4 separate regions of the Homo sapiens genome follow, and all the other regions are linked to region 1. The links are contacts of gene promoters, found by promoter capture Hi-C in blood cells and fetal thymus (Javierre and others, 2016). All regions are on one chromosome and are shown on one strand. The core of a region is centred on a gene start or on the middle of the fragment in contact, and the rest is flanking DNA. Distances in the headings are between cores, read along the strand shown.

Region 1 (2,988 bases), core at 29-2,528:
TCAGGTGATCATTAAGTGTAGAACTCTCCGACAGCAGGGAACACAACAGCGAATTTGTTGTCAGTCCCTGTCACCCCACCCAACTAAATATTGTGGGGGGGGGAAGGGTTGCCTTAAATTGTGAAGTAAAATGTCAGCCCACTCCAATAACTCCACCACGCAACATGCAAACTGCTTCCAAAAACCATCATCCAACTCCCACCCGGATTAATATTTGGAGAGAAAGGTGGCATCAGTATCCGCACAGCTGAGAGGGGAGGGAAGGAAAGAGTCAGAATTCATAAGGGGCCGCTGAGTCACCTAAAATTGTGGCCAAGACTTTACCCTCCAGGAAATCGAGCTCTGCCCCAACTCTCATCAAGGAAGCAAGTGAGAGTAGCAGCAGCAACATCATCCTACCAAAAAAACACCAGCGCAGCTTTTAATAGAGTTCCACTCCTTAAAGTGAAGCCAAAAATAGGTTTCATGTCCAAAGCTTTCCTCCGCAGTAGGCGACACGCGCAGATGGAGAAAATATCTTTATTGTTGGGAAAGGGAGGCGTGCTAACGGGGACGAAGGATACCTCACCACTTGGCAAAGTTACTGGCTCCTGCCTTGACCCTGAAATGCCACTTTTATTGCAACATGTGGCCCAAGAAACTCTAAGGAAATGTGGCTGGCAGACGCTGTAGAGCTTTTACCCCAATGTACTTGGCAAAGTAAAAGGGGATACATAAACCAGGCGCGTTCTGTGTAATCTAAGCAAGAATCAAGGTCTCCGTTCGGTAGGCGCTTCGGTGACACAATAATCACGTGTTCGTGGGCGTAGACTTTCGAAAACACTCGATTCTGGGACGTGCAGATACCGGTACCCACCGGCGAGCGCAGGAACGAGTGGGCACTCCCACCCCCGGGAGCTGGCTCCGTTCCCGCAGGAGGTTGGTCACGCCCCCTGACTCCTGGTCGCTGCGACAGCCAAGGGCGAGGCCGCAGCAGGCGGGCTGCAGGCGGCGGAAGCTCGTCCGCGCTCCTCCCCCGGTGGGGCGCTCTCCGCTCGCCTCGCGCGGCCCCGACCCCAAGACCCAGGCCCCGGAAGGCGAGCGTTCACTTACCTGCTCCCCTCTCTCGCTCTCCGCTGCCGCCGCTGCGCCGCTCACCCACGCTGCCCGGTGAGCCACCCCCAGCACACAGACCCCTACGCGTACACCCGAGGCACGGCCCCAGGCCCTTGAGGGGAGACCGCGGCCCAGCCACACAGGTTGGGGTAGCCCACGCACCACCCGGCTTCGAACACCTCTGCCCCCGGAAGTTGATTTCCGCCAAGGCCCGCCCAACACAGCGCCCGTCACTCAACGTAAACACGCGCGTCACGTGGCCCCAGGCCGAGGCCCGGGTCGGGGCCCCATGTTCAGAGCCCTGCCACCCCAGCTTGAGCGTGGTCTTTGGAGCGTTGCCCTGTGAAAAGGGGTGACTTTGCCATGCTCCTTCCCAGTCTACCTCCTGTTAGTTACAGTTTCTCATTCCTCTTGAGTAGCAGGCCCTGTTTCTCCACCTAATCCCTGCAAGTAAACCGTCCCCCAAATCAAAATGAGTTCCATCTGGAACTTTGTAGGATTGGTCCTAAGAAGATCCCGCCGAATCTCTTCACCACTTCCTAGCAGAGCACAGTAAAACCGGGGACTAAGCAAAGTGGCTGACATGTAGTAAGTGCTCAAGAAATGGATGTTGACTAGATGCTACCTCTCATCTTTGCCTGTCTGAACTCTCAAGCACCGGATGCAAGTAGACTGAGAGCCTCCGCCAACCAGTAAGATGACTTTGGTCAAAGAATTCTGCTCTAGAGTTACTTTTGTTCTTGTCTTCAACTCCAGATCACAGCAATTCATACGTGCCATCTCTGTTGCAGAGTTTTCTTGCAAAGCCTTTCTTAAAAGCTTTCTGTCAAATAGCTTGTCCTGAAGCAATAGGAAAAGAATAGCGTAATTCACAGATTATTTATTTGAAAGGAAGGAATGATTATATAGATGTCTTTGTCCATTTCAGACTGTCAATAGCGATGAGAGAAACAGTCAACTAGCAGTCCACTCGTGAATGTTTCTTCTGTTTTTGCCATGGAAGGATTTTGAAGAACATTCATTCAACAAATTTTTATTGATTGTATACCACATACCTAGTCCTGGGCCAAGTTTTGACAATTCAAGAGTGAGCAAGGTAACACTCAAGATATTTGTCTTCAAGAAGCTTACAGTCTAGTGAGAAAGAAAGACACTAACCTGGGGACTTTGAGCATAAATCTCTGGAATATTCACATTCCTTGTATAACAAGTATTCTTTCATCCTTGGACACTGGGTTTCTCATCTGTTGAACAAAATTGGCTTAAACCTGTAATCTCTGTTCTGTACTGGAAGTGGAAAATATTAGCAAGGCATCCTGACAAGTCTGCCATAAGTGCTGGCCTAAGTAGTTAATGAGCAGTTTCAGTATTGAGCAAGTCACCTTGACTACATTCTTTTTCCAGCCCACCCCCTTCTTTATGCATACAAAAAACATTTCTATTGTAAGAAATGTAATGCTTTCTTACACATATTTTTTTATCTGTCTACTAGACTACCAAGTCAAGGACCACTTCTCACTTGTATATCCAGCAATCTACTCACTTCTCATTTGTCTTTGTGTATCCAGCAGTCTAGCAAAGTGTCTAGTAGTTAGAAAAAAGGTATTCATAAATATTTCTTAAACTTAGTAAGGTTACCTTTATATTATTTTGTCTCTCATATCTCTTTCTGCTGGAAACCAGATTAGTTTCTGGGAGTTCCTTCCCATTGATGTACTTACATGTTCACTCTGTCCCGATATTCAATACTAAACTGTATTCCATACTAAACAGATTTATAATAAGTAACTAATATTTATTATTAATATTTGCTATGTGCCTGGCATTAGATTAAATATTTTAAATCCCATATATAACTTACCACAATAATTTTACAAAGTAGGTATATTAATA
Region 2 (3,037 bases), core at 213-2,712, 5.6 Mb after region 1:
AAAATATCCAGGCCAGGTGCGGTGGCTCATGCCTGTAATCCCAGTATTTTGGGAGGCCGAGGTGGGTGGATCACTTGAGGTCAGGCATTCGAGACCAGCCTGGCCAACATGGTGAAACCCCGACTCTACTAAAAATACAAAAATTAGCTGAGCATGGTGGCGCACATCTGTAATCCAAGCTACTTGGGTGGCTGAGGCACGAGAATCACTTGAACCTGGGAAACGGAGGTTGCAGTGAGCTGAGATCACACCACTGCACTCCAGCCTGGGCTACAGCGAGACTCTGTCTCAAAAAAAATAAAATAAAATAAAATAAAATACAAAAAGAAAAATATCCAGTGGCTTCCCATGATGTCCTAAATGATGAGTAAGCTACTCAAAGTCTAGCTTCATTGCCTTTGTGAGATAGTTTTCCTTGCTCAGAAATGTTTCCCTTTTCAATCTGATCTCATCTACCCTTCAAAGCTTAGCTCAGGTACCCCCACCTCTATGAAGCCTTCTGTCCTACGTTCTTCTATGCCTACCTTGTGCTACAGTTAGTTGTACAAGGACTCTTACTGAAAACTAGCATTACAGCTAGTACAAAAAACACATGTCAGAATTACTGAATTTTAGGAGCTCACAATTCTCTCAGTTGGGATGGGAGAATTGGAAATGAGAGGTGGAAGAACGTAGTACCAAAACATGCGATGCGTAATTGTAGGTATTTCATTGAATTCTCATGACTACTTTCCAAGGTAATACCATTTTATAGAGACTTTAAAACTTGCCAAAGGTTATAAATGGCTGGAAATAATATTCAAAAACCATCCTCTTTCCACATTATGCTCAGTCCCCAAAAAGATGTGACGCAGTTTGTGTAGTCCAAGTTACATGGCTATTATACAGGAAAACAAACTAGCACTTTAGGCTCCTGTCTTCATAGTCACATCTTAATAAAATACATGGGAGCCTAACAAATATTTCATGTTTTTGATGGGCGTCTATTAAACATTATATACTTTATTATTCTAAAATGCTGAAGACAGGGAGGGAATAGGAAACAGAAAACTGGATGTAATCACTAACATTAAAAGTTACACTGAATATAAACCATGACTCCTTATTTGTATCTACAGGACTCAAGATTTCCTATAATCTTAGGGAAAGTAAACTAATATATTGTTTACTTTTTTAATATATTAAAAAATTAGCCGTAACTTACTACATTAGCTTACCTAAGACTTTTCAGAAGCTACTGCTTAAAGGAACAAACTCATCTTTTTAAAAACAGAAAAGAAAATCAATTATTATATCAGAACACTAGTGGAGACATAACTTAACACAGCAATTGTATAGATCTGGCTTTTTCTTCTTCCTTTAAGGCAAAGACCAATATAAAATATCAACTATCAATATTAAGAGGAGTTACAGGTTTTTAATAGATTATTTAGGTAACTACCTCCAACACTGTTAGAAAGAGGAAGGATATGAAAACTGCTGTGTAGCTACACAACCTAACACAAAGATTAATTTCCATGATAGAATACATATGCTTAAAAAAATGATGAAAAGATTTTTTAAAATATGCATTCAATAACAGGCAAAAACCTGTAGTAAAGCAGAAAGAACAGTACATTTTTTAAACTTCTTGGGTAATCTTTGCATGTGAACTAAATTTGAATGTTCATTCCATAAACATTACGTTGTTATAATTTTCTTATTTGTCTTCCCCATCGGACTAGGAATTTCAAAGAGCAAATATTTGTTTTTTGATTCAAGTATCCAATATATAGTAGGTGCTCAGCAGCAATAATAATTATCATGAAAGACAGCATTTATTTTACCCTCACAATAACCCATTGAGGTAGGGACAACTACTGGATCAATTTTACAGCTCAGGATACTGAGACAGGAAGTTTAATGATTTGACCAGAGTAACAAAGCTAGTAAAGTATAGAATCTGGACTCAAAACTAGCACTGTGTTCAAACCCCATGCTCTTGAGCACTGTAACACACTGTTATTGAAAAGCTAAGTTGCTATAAGGTACCATATAGCAAGCAATCTCATTTAGACCCAACAAAGGAATAAATATATTAGTTTTGTAATGTTAAATAATAATTACGGTATTAATTCCTACCTATGAAGCCTTTGCCATTATCTACTATAAGTCCCAAGTAATGGAAAAATTCATAGTGACAAGTTAGTGAGAAAAACAACGTTGCTTAATACTGCAAACAGAAAGACCCTGAGACAACATAACTGGAATATTCCAAACACTAATTCATCAGCTCTTCAGAAAATGAAAAACAATTTTAAGAGTCCGTTGAGAATTATTATGGACCTGAGATCTGACTTGATTCTTTATTCCTTTATACGATGACTCTCCAAAGAAAAGTATAAAAATTAAAAATCAAAATCTTCAAATAAGTTAAACAGTTGTTACACAACAAAAGTAACTCGTGAAGGAAAGCTTAAGTAATCCCTTTTTCCTAAAATGGTGTCACATATGAAAAAAGTAATGCAAATTTATGTTCAAGGGAACTTTAAAGCAGAATCTTTTTATGAGCCAAAGCTTTTAAGAAATTAATTTTATACAGAAGCACCTTCCCTGCCTAAATCATAATATACAAACAAAACTCTTGGTCATAGAACAATAATTCATAAGATGGTTTATCATCTCAGATCTGCCATTTGTAAACGGCAAATTCAGTTTCATTAACTATATGATACATATTAACAGTACCGTCTACATCTACCTCACAGGATAGTTGGGAGAATGCATGTGAAAGTGCTTTATAAACAGTAAAGGATTATTAAATACAAAGCACTGTGGCTGTATTGTTGTTTTAGATTTACTCTGCCTATTCTGCTACTATACTCCGAAAACCTCACCATCTCCTTTATAATTTATTCTTTTAATCTAGTAAGAACAGGAATTCTGTCTAAAATGAGATATATTTACTCCATGTACCCACAAATTCTGAGCAAAGACTGGGCCTTCTATCATTTTGACTCTAGTAAGTCTTTTTTAGCTTGTTTTTTTCTTTTTATTT
Region 3 (2,968 bases), core at 251-2,750, 6.7 Mb after region 1:
TTAAACACAATGCATAAATTTTAAACGTAAAGTCAAAGCTAAATATAAAAAAAGAAGCACATTTGTTTGGCTTTTAATGTGGGCAACTGGCCAGACAGAACTGTAATGTACAACCAAGCAGCAGAACCAAGGAGTGGGTTATGCATTTTAAAGTTGTAGCTTTGTTCCACTTGTCTCATTCCTCTTCTATCTTGATTAAATGGAGAAAAAGAGAAACAAAGAAAGATTAGACGTTACCAAGGGGCATCTGTGTCTGCAGTAGTTTTCCTAGTTTTAGCTGGATGAGGAAGGCTTAGTCAAGCAGATGAGTTGGCAAGGCATAAAGAGGAAAGCTGCCCATAAATATGTCACCCAAGGGTATTCCTCTTGGTTCTGAAATATTCATCATAGGCTACAGGAGTTTCTATGGATGGGAGAAATATTGACATGGCTAAGTTGATAGCAGAAGAAACAACGTGAAGCCAAGAAGATTCTAGTTTTATAAATTCTAGAATATCTGGTGGCAGCAGAAATAAAAATACAACCATGTGTTTTCAAATATTTTGAATGTATTCTGTGGACAAGAAATGGTGATGGATTAAGAGCTTGCTTTCCCCAGGTTTTCTTTCCAAATACTTGCCCTCCCCATTAACATTCTTTAGTGAAAAATATTTCGCACAAATACATATTAAGCCTAATGGTTAAGCTTCATATTCTAGGATACTAATGCTATTATCATTTATTAAGACATCAATTTTGAACAATTTTGCTATTCTTTATCTTTTCCCATTTCCAGTTAAAAGCCCAAATATATATGTGTGTGTGTATATATATATATACACACACACACACATACAGTGTCTTCACTACCTTAGAAGGGTTATTATTTATTTCTGGATCATAACCTCCACACATGAATAGCATAGTACACATTCCAAATAAACAACATAGATCCCTTTCTAAGCAAGTCAACCATTAACATAGAAATATATATTTTTAAAAAGGTTAAAAAAATCTATCTTATGCAGCTGAATCAAATGTGAAGTCTTGGATGTTTAAAGTAAAAATACTTTAGTGATTTATCAAGACATGAAACTATCAAGTCATCTATTTTGAACTCCTATTTAGAGGCAGCCTTCATTTAATCTATTGTAAATCTCATGACAAACACTTAACAGAGTAGTTATGGAATTAGAAAACCTCATTAAGTGTTTACCTTTTATTTAAACAGAAAGCTGACAGGTTTCATTCCTGATGGAAATAGAGAATGTAACAGGAATTACTTATGAGTAATAGTGAATTATTTTCCCCAAATTTAATAGCAGATAATAATTCATTCGTAGTTAAAATTTCCTTATAAATTTAGTTAAAATATATATTTAAAAACTCACATTTCCAATAGCCAGTAGTGCTTTGTCAAAAAAGAGAATCATTCCAAAGAACAGGAAAAACACTCCAAATCCTGTTAATCCCATTCCAATTTCTGCAATATAAGGTATATGGTTAAGGGTAGAGAAAAATTAAAGTCACATTAACATCCCTGTAAACTAAGAAAATTTTCCAGTTTTCCTTTCATAGGTATAAGAAAACAGGTACCCAACATTGCAGGTTAACTTCATAATGACATTTATTTAGCTCTTATAACAAATTAATTATCAGCAAATTATTTCAAAATTTAAAACATGAATGAAAATTTCTAAGCCTTATATGGGAGATAGCATTTCTCAGACATAGCTATAATAAAAAAGATAAATCGGGATTCTAAACCTTTGGTTTTAATATGTAATTTGTTTTTTTCCTCCTGAAAAGCTCTCTCGCATCAGACATAAATGTATAGGTTTCCTTAATTACTTATCTCCTTTCACATTCTATAATTATTATTTAAATGCACAATATCTGTAGTTCTTTCTTCCTCTTAAAATTGATTCCTTCTTTACTGCATTAGAAATGTTATGGTAGGTCCGCACAATCAATATCCTTTATCCAATTATATACTGCTTGTCACAATGGCAACAAGAAATATTTCGAAAATCATGGTACCAGTATTCTCAAAACCAAATTTTCAGAAGGTCAGGCATCACTTTTAATTTCTTGATTACTTATTATGGACTTATCTACAAATTTACCTAAACTATAAATCTACTTAAATATTTGGTCTAGAGTCCTAAAATCACCTCTCCGAAGTTTCAAAGAATACTGTTTTACCTAATATTAATATTCTAGGTTTTTCATGTTTCATTAGTTTCATTAAAAAACAAAGAATTGTTGATCAACTGCCAGATGCAAGGAACTGTTCCAGGTACTGAATATACAGTGGTAGACGAGGTGTAAGCTTTAAAGTCTATGTTTATCTTGTATATAAAATTAATACTTTTATTGACTGTGCATTCTCTAGGTCTTATTTTTTTAGTATGAAAAGTCTTAACTTCTAAGGTGACAGATGTACTCTTCTATTAATGTTATAAAGCACAATTCACTAAGTTACCTCCTTGATCATTTTAGTTTTGATTCTAGAAAATAGCCATTAATCCGTAGTTTAGTTAGAAGCACAATCTGCATACAGATGAGTCAGAGTAGAAGCCACCGTATTTTTAGAAGCACAATTTAAAATACCCTATCACTGATTTCTGATCTATTGCTTAACTTTTTTGCCTCAGCTCCAGAAAGCTAAAATCTAGGTCACAGCTACTTAAAAAACTCTTAAGTCATATAAAATGTTCTGATAACTTGAAAACTTTTATCAACTTTAGCTTTTTCTACATTCCCCACCTGCTCAATTTCCTGATAACTAGTGTCTTCCATTGCAGACACCTTTTGTTCCCAAAGTTAGTCTAAAATAATTCAGGTACCTGGTCTATAAATACACCAGTTAAGTGAATTCAACACACATTCCTATGAAAATTTGAGGCTGATACTTTCATGATCAAAGGCCTTAAGAGAATTTACCAAATTAACTATTTGGATAGTGGACATAATTTCATAGAGGAAA
Region 4 (3,246 bases), core at 694-3,193, 5.6 Mb after region 1:
GGAAAACCTGCAGGCTTTGCAGTACCAGCATGAATAAGGGGAACTTGTCCTGGTGCTAACACAATAAGGAAGTGTCTGCCTATTTATATCTCAGTACCATGACTCATTGAGTGCATTGATAGGCACTGATAAAAAGCAGTGTGGGCTGGCTGTGGTGGCTCACACCTGTAATCCCAGCACTTTGGGAGGCCAAGCTGGGTGGATCACCTGAGGTCAGGAGTTCGAGATCAGCTTGACCAACATGGTGAAACCCCCATCTCTACTAAAAATACAAAAATAAGCTGGGTGTGGTGGCAGGTGCCTGTAATCCCAGCTACTCGAGAGGCTGAGTCAGGACAATCACTTGAACCTGGGAGGCGGAGGCGGCAGTGAGCAGAGATCACACCATTGCACTCCAGCCTGGGCAACAAGAGCAAAACTCCCAAAAAAAGCAATGTGTTCCACTGCAATAATCTTCCAATTTAGAGAATATTTTACTTGATGCAGTCCTTATGCCCATGGTACATTAAGTATGGTATGGTACCTTATGCCCATGGTACATTAAGATACAAGGGAACTAATAAGATGATGAGTTTACCTAGATGCCTACTTATCTCATTTTTACTCCTTAATCAAAGCAAAAGTGAGCCACATGGTGGCTCACACCTGCAATCCTAGCACTTTGGGAGGATGAGGCAGGCAGATCACTTGAGCCCAAGAGTTCGAGATCAGCCTGGGCAACATGGGGAGACCTCATCTCTACTAAAATATAAAAATTAGCCAGATGTGGTGGTGTGCGCCTGCAGTCCCAGCTATTCAGGAGGCTAAGGTTGGAGGATCACCTGAGCCTGGGAGGTTGAGGCTGTGGTGAACTGTGATCTTGCCACCGCACTGTAGCCTGGGTAACAGAGTGGGACCCTGGCCCAAAGGAAAAAAAAAAATCAAAGCAAAAGTAACTGAACTGAGCCCAAGTTGTCATTTGTATAATTATACTTGTAATCCCAGCCCACTTTCAAACTTAAATCAGTGAGTTTCTGGCTTGAGCAATTGACTATGTAGTTGGCATTGCTGTTTAGTAGAAGACTACCAGGTCTTTTGTTGTTGTTGTTGTCATTCTCGTTGTTGTAGTTATGGGAAAGGTAAAGAAAATCAGGTCAGTTTTGGACATCTTGACTTTTGAGGTCACTTTTGGACATCTTGACTTTTGAGGTCACTTTGATACTCCAAATGGAAATAGTAACTTGGCAGTTGCATATATGGGTCAAGATCCCAGAAGCGAGTTACAGACTAAAGATAACGATTTGAGAGTCCCTGACTAAACAGATGGAAATTAAAATTGTGAGCTTGGATGAGATCACCTAGGGAGACAGTACAGTTGGAAGAGAATAGAGACAAAAACTGAACCTGAGAAAAACACATATTTAATAGTTAAGGACAATGAGTAGGCTGAGAAGACAGATGTATAAACCAGAATAGGTAAGAGAAGCTTGGTTTCTGAATACCAAGAGGAAGATTATTTTAAGGACAGCGTGGTCAACAGCATCAAATGCTACTGAGAGTCACGTAAATAAAAAACTGAAGCCAGGCATGGTGGCACGTGCCTGTAGTCTCAGCAACTTGGGAGCCTGAGGCAGAAGGACTGCATGAACCCAAGGGTTTGAGACCAGTCTGGGCAACACAGCAAGACCCCATCTCAAAAATAAAAACTTAAAACTAAAAAAAGTGTTCATTGCATTTAGCAACCAGAGGTTATTGATGGCATTAGTGAAAGCTGTTTTTGTAGAGTGGTGGTGGCTAAACCCAGATATTAATAGTTTTTGGAGCGCTTAGGAAGTGAGGAGAGGGCACCAAGTACTGACAACCCTTGAGTAATTTAACCTGAAAGAATGGGAAAGATTAACAGGAACATTTTAGGAAGCCAGGAAAGAAGAGCAATCTAAGTAGTAATAGCAAGTGTTAACTGTTAATTTAATTCCACAATAATTTGTTGATCACATGAAGGGCACAGGACAAAGAACTGAGAATTGAGAGATGAGTGAGAAGCAATCCATTCCCTCAGAGTGCTCATGGTTTAGTGGGGGTTGGGGGGGAGAGAGATGGATAAATAATTATTGCATGGAAAGTATAATAACAAATGTATTAGATTTAGTAGTAGCATAGGTGGGAGTGAAGAGCATATTTATTAGGAAGGAGATTAGAGAAGATGTAGAAGTGACTTTTGTAAAAGGCAAAAGATTTATACACTCTAAAGAGAAACCAGAGTATTGACTTTTGAACTGAGTTATGAATTCATAGCTATTTGGTAGGATGACTATGAGAGAGATACTCCAGGAAGAAGGAAAAGTATAGTTTATTAGAAAACTACATGTAATCTTCAAAGACGTGAGTTCTTGGAATCACATTGTCTAGATTTAAAACCTGCCTCTATCATTAGAAGCTTTGTGACCTTGGGTAATCACCAGAGCTTTGAAAAGCCATAATTTTCTCATTTATAAAATGAAGGCTGATAATTCCTACCTCAGGATTTTAGGGAGCCTTAACAGCTGTGAAACGCTGAATTCAGTAGCTGGTGTGCGGCAAACCATCAATACACGTTAATTCTTGTTATTGATAATTTAAAATGCAAAAAGAGTGTCAGGGTATGAAGCTAAACAAGGTAATCAGGAGTCACATCATGGTAGATTTGTCAGAAAGTTAGCACTGTTCCCAGCATTAATGAAAACAAACGAGAACAATTATTAGGAAACAGTTCAACTGAAGTCAGGCTTAAATCTACTAAAAATAGTTTTCAGGAAGCATCTTAATTATAATCTCTTGTTGATGAAGCCTAAGGCAACAAGTACGTACAAGTACCTCAAAGTCTACTAATTAGGAGGCTGAGATTGCTAACCTCTAATTGTGCAATTTGCAACTTTTTACATTTTGGAACACAATGCATTATTTTCCATTAATATTGGTGCTAAACTTCAATTTTCTAATATTTTTTCTTTATACATTTCATATTTTAAAAAATGAGTTGGTAATACGGTAATACTTCGATTTCACCACAAAAACGACTTCAACTCTACCACCCAAAACAACAAAAAACACTGATCATGCCGGGCAAGATGGCTCATGCCTGTAATCCCACCACTTTGTGAGGTCAAGGCAGGAGGATGGCTTAAACCAGGATTGAGACCAGCCTGGGCAATACAGGGAGACTCCATCTCTTCAAAAAATTTAAAAAACTAGCGGTGCATGGTGGTATGTGCTTGTAGTCCCAGGAAC

Evidence for each region. Contacts are between HindIII fragments. The CHiCAGO score rates a contact against its expected background, and 5 or more counts as called.
Region 2: a contact is called between a fragment that was not itself captured here and the fragment with the promoter of CCDC91 in region 1, in 2 of 17 cell types (total B cells and fetal thymus). The highest score is 7.0, in total B cells.
Region 3: a fragment that was not itself captured here is called in contact with the fragment with the promoter of CCDC91 in region 1 in 1 of 17 cell types (naive B cells); the score reaches 7.0 in naive B cells.
Region 4: a fragment that was not itself captured here is called in contact with the fragment with the promoter of CCDC91 in region 1 in 3 of 17 cell types (naive B cells, fetal thymus and non-activated CD4 T cells); the score reaches 6.5 in naive B cells.

Annotation. Positions count from the first base shown.
Region 1 is chr12:28,188,746-28,191,733 of GRCh38, reverse strand. It overlaps CCDC91 (coiled-coil domain containing 91), which reads right to left and starts at 1,278. Exons shown (of 13, transcript NM_018318.5): 1 at 1,093-1,278. LOC729291 (a long non-coding RNA gene) reads left to right here and starts at 996. Exons shown (of 1, transcript NR_148936.1): 1 at 996-2,988. RefSeq lists silencers at 1-118, 802-1,231, 1,262-1,311. The HindIII fragment of the contact is 1,439 bases long and covers 478-1,916 here.
Region 2 is chr12:22,627,884-22,630,920 of GRCh38, reverse strand. All of the region lies in intron 1 of ETNK1 (ethanolamine kinase 1), which reads right to left. Among named protein-coding and RNA genes, the nearest start is that of ETNK1, 4.2 kb to the right of the region's middle. The HindIII fragment of the contact is 1,989 bases long and covers 468-2,456 here.
Region 3 is chr12:21,505,379-21,508,346 of GRCh38, reverse strand. It overlaps GOLT1B (golgi transport 1B), which reads right to left. Exons shown (of 5, transcript NM_016072.5): 2 at 1,371-1,462. Among named protein-coding and RNA genes, the nearest start is that of GOLT1B, 5.1 kb to the right of the region's middle. The HindIII fragment of the contact is 1,626 bases long and covers 688-2,313 here.
Region 4 is chr12:22,546,553-22,549,798 of GRCh38, reverse strand. No RefSeq gene overlaps it. Among named protein-coding and RNA genes, the nearest start is that of C2CD5, 3.6 kb to the right of the region's middle. The HindIII fragment of the contact is 951 bases long and covers 1,468-2,418 here.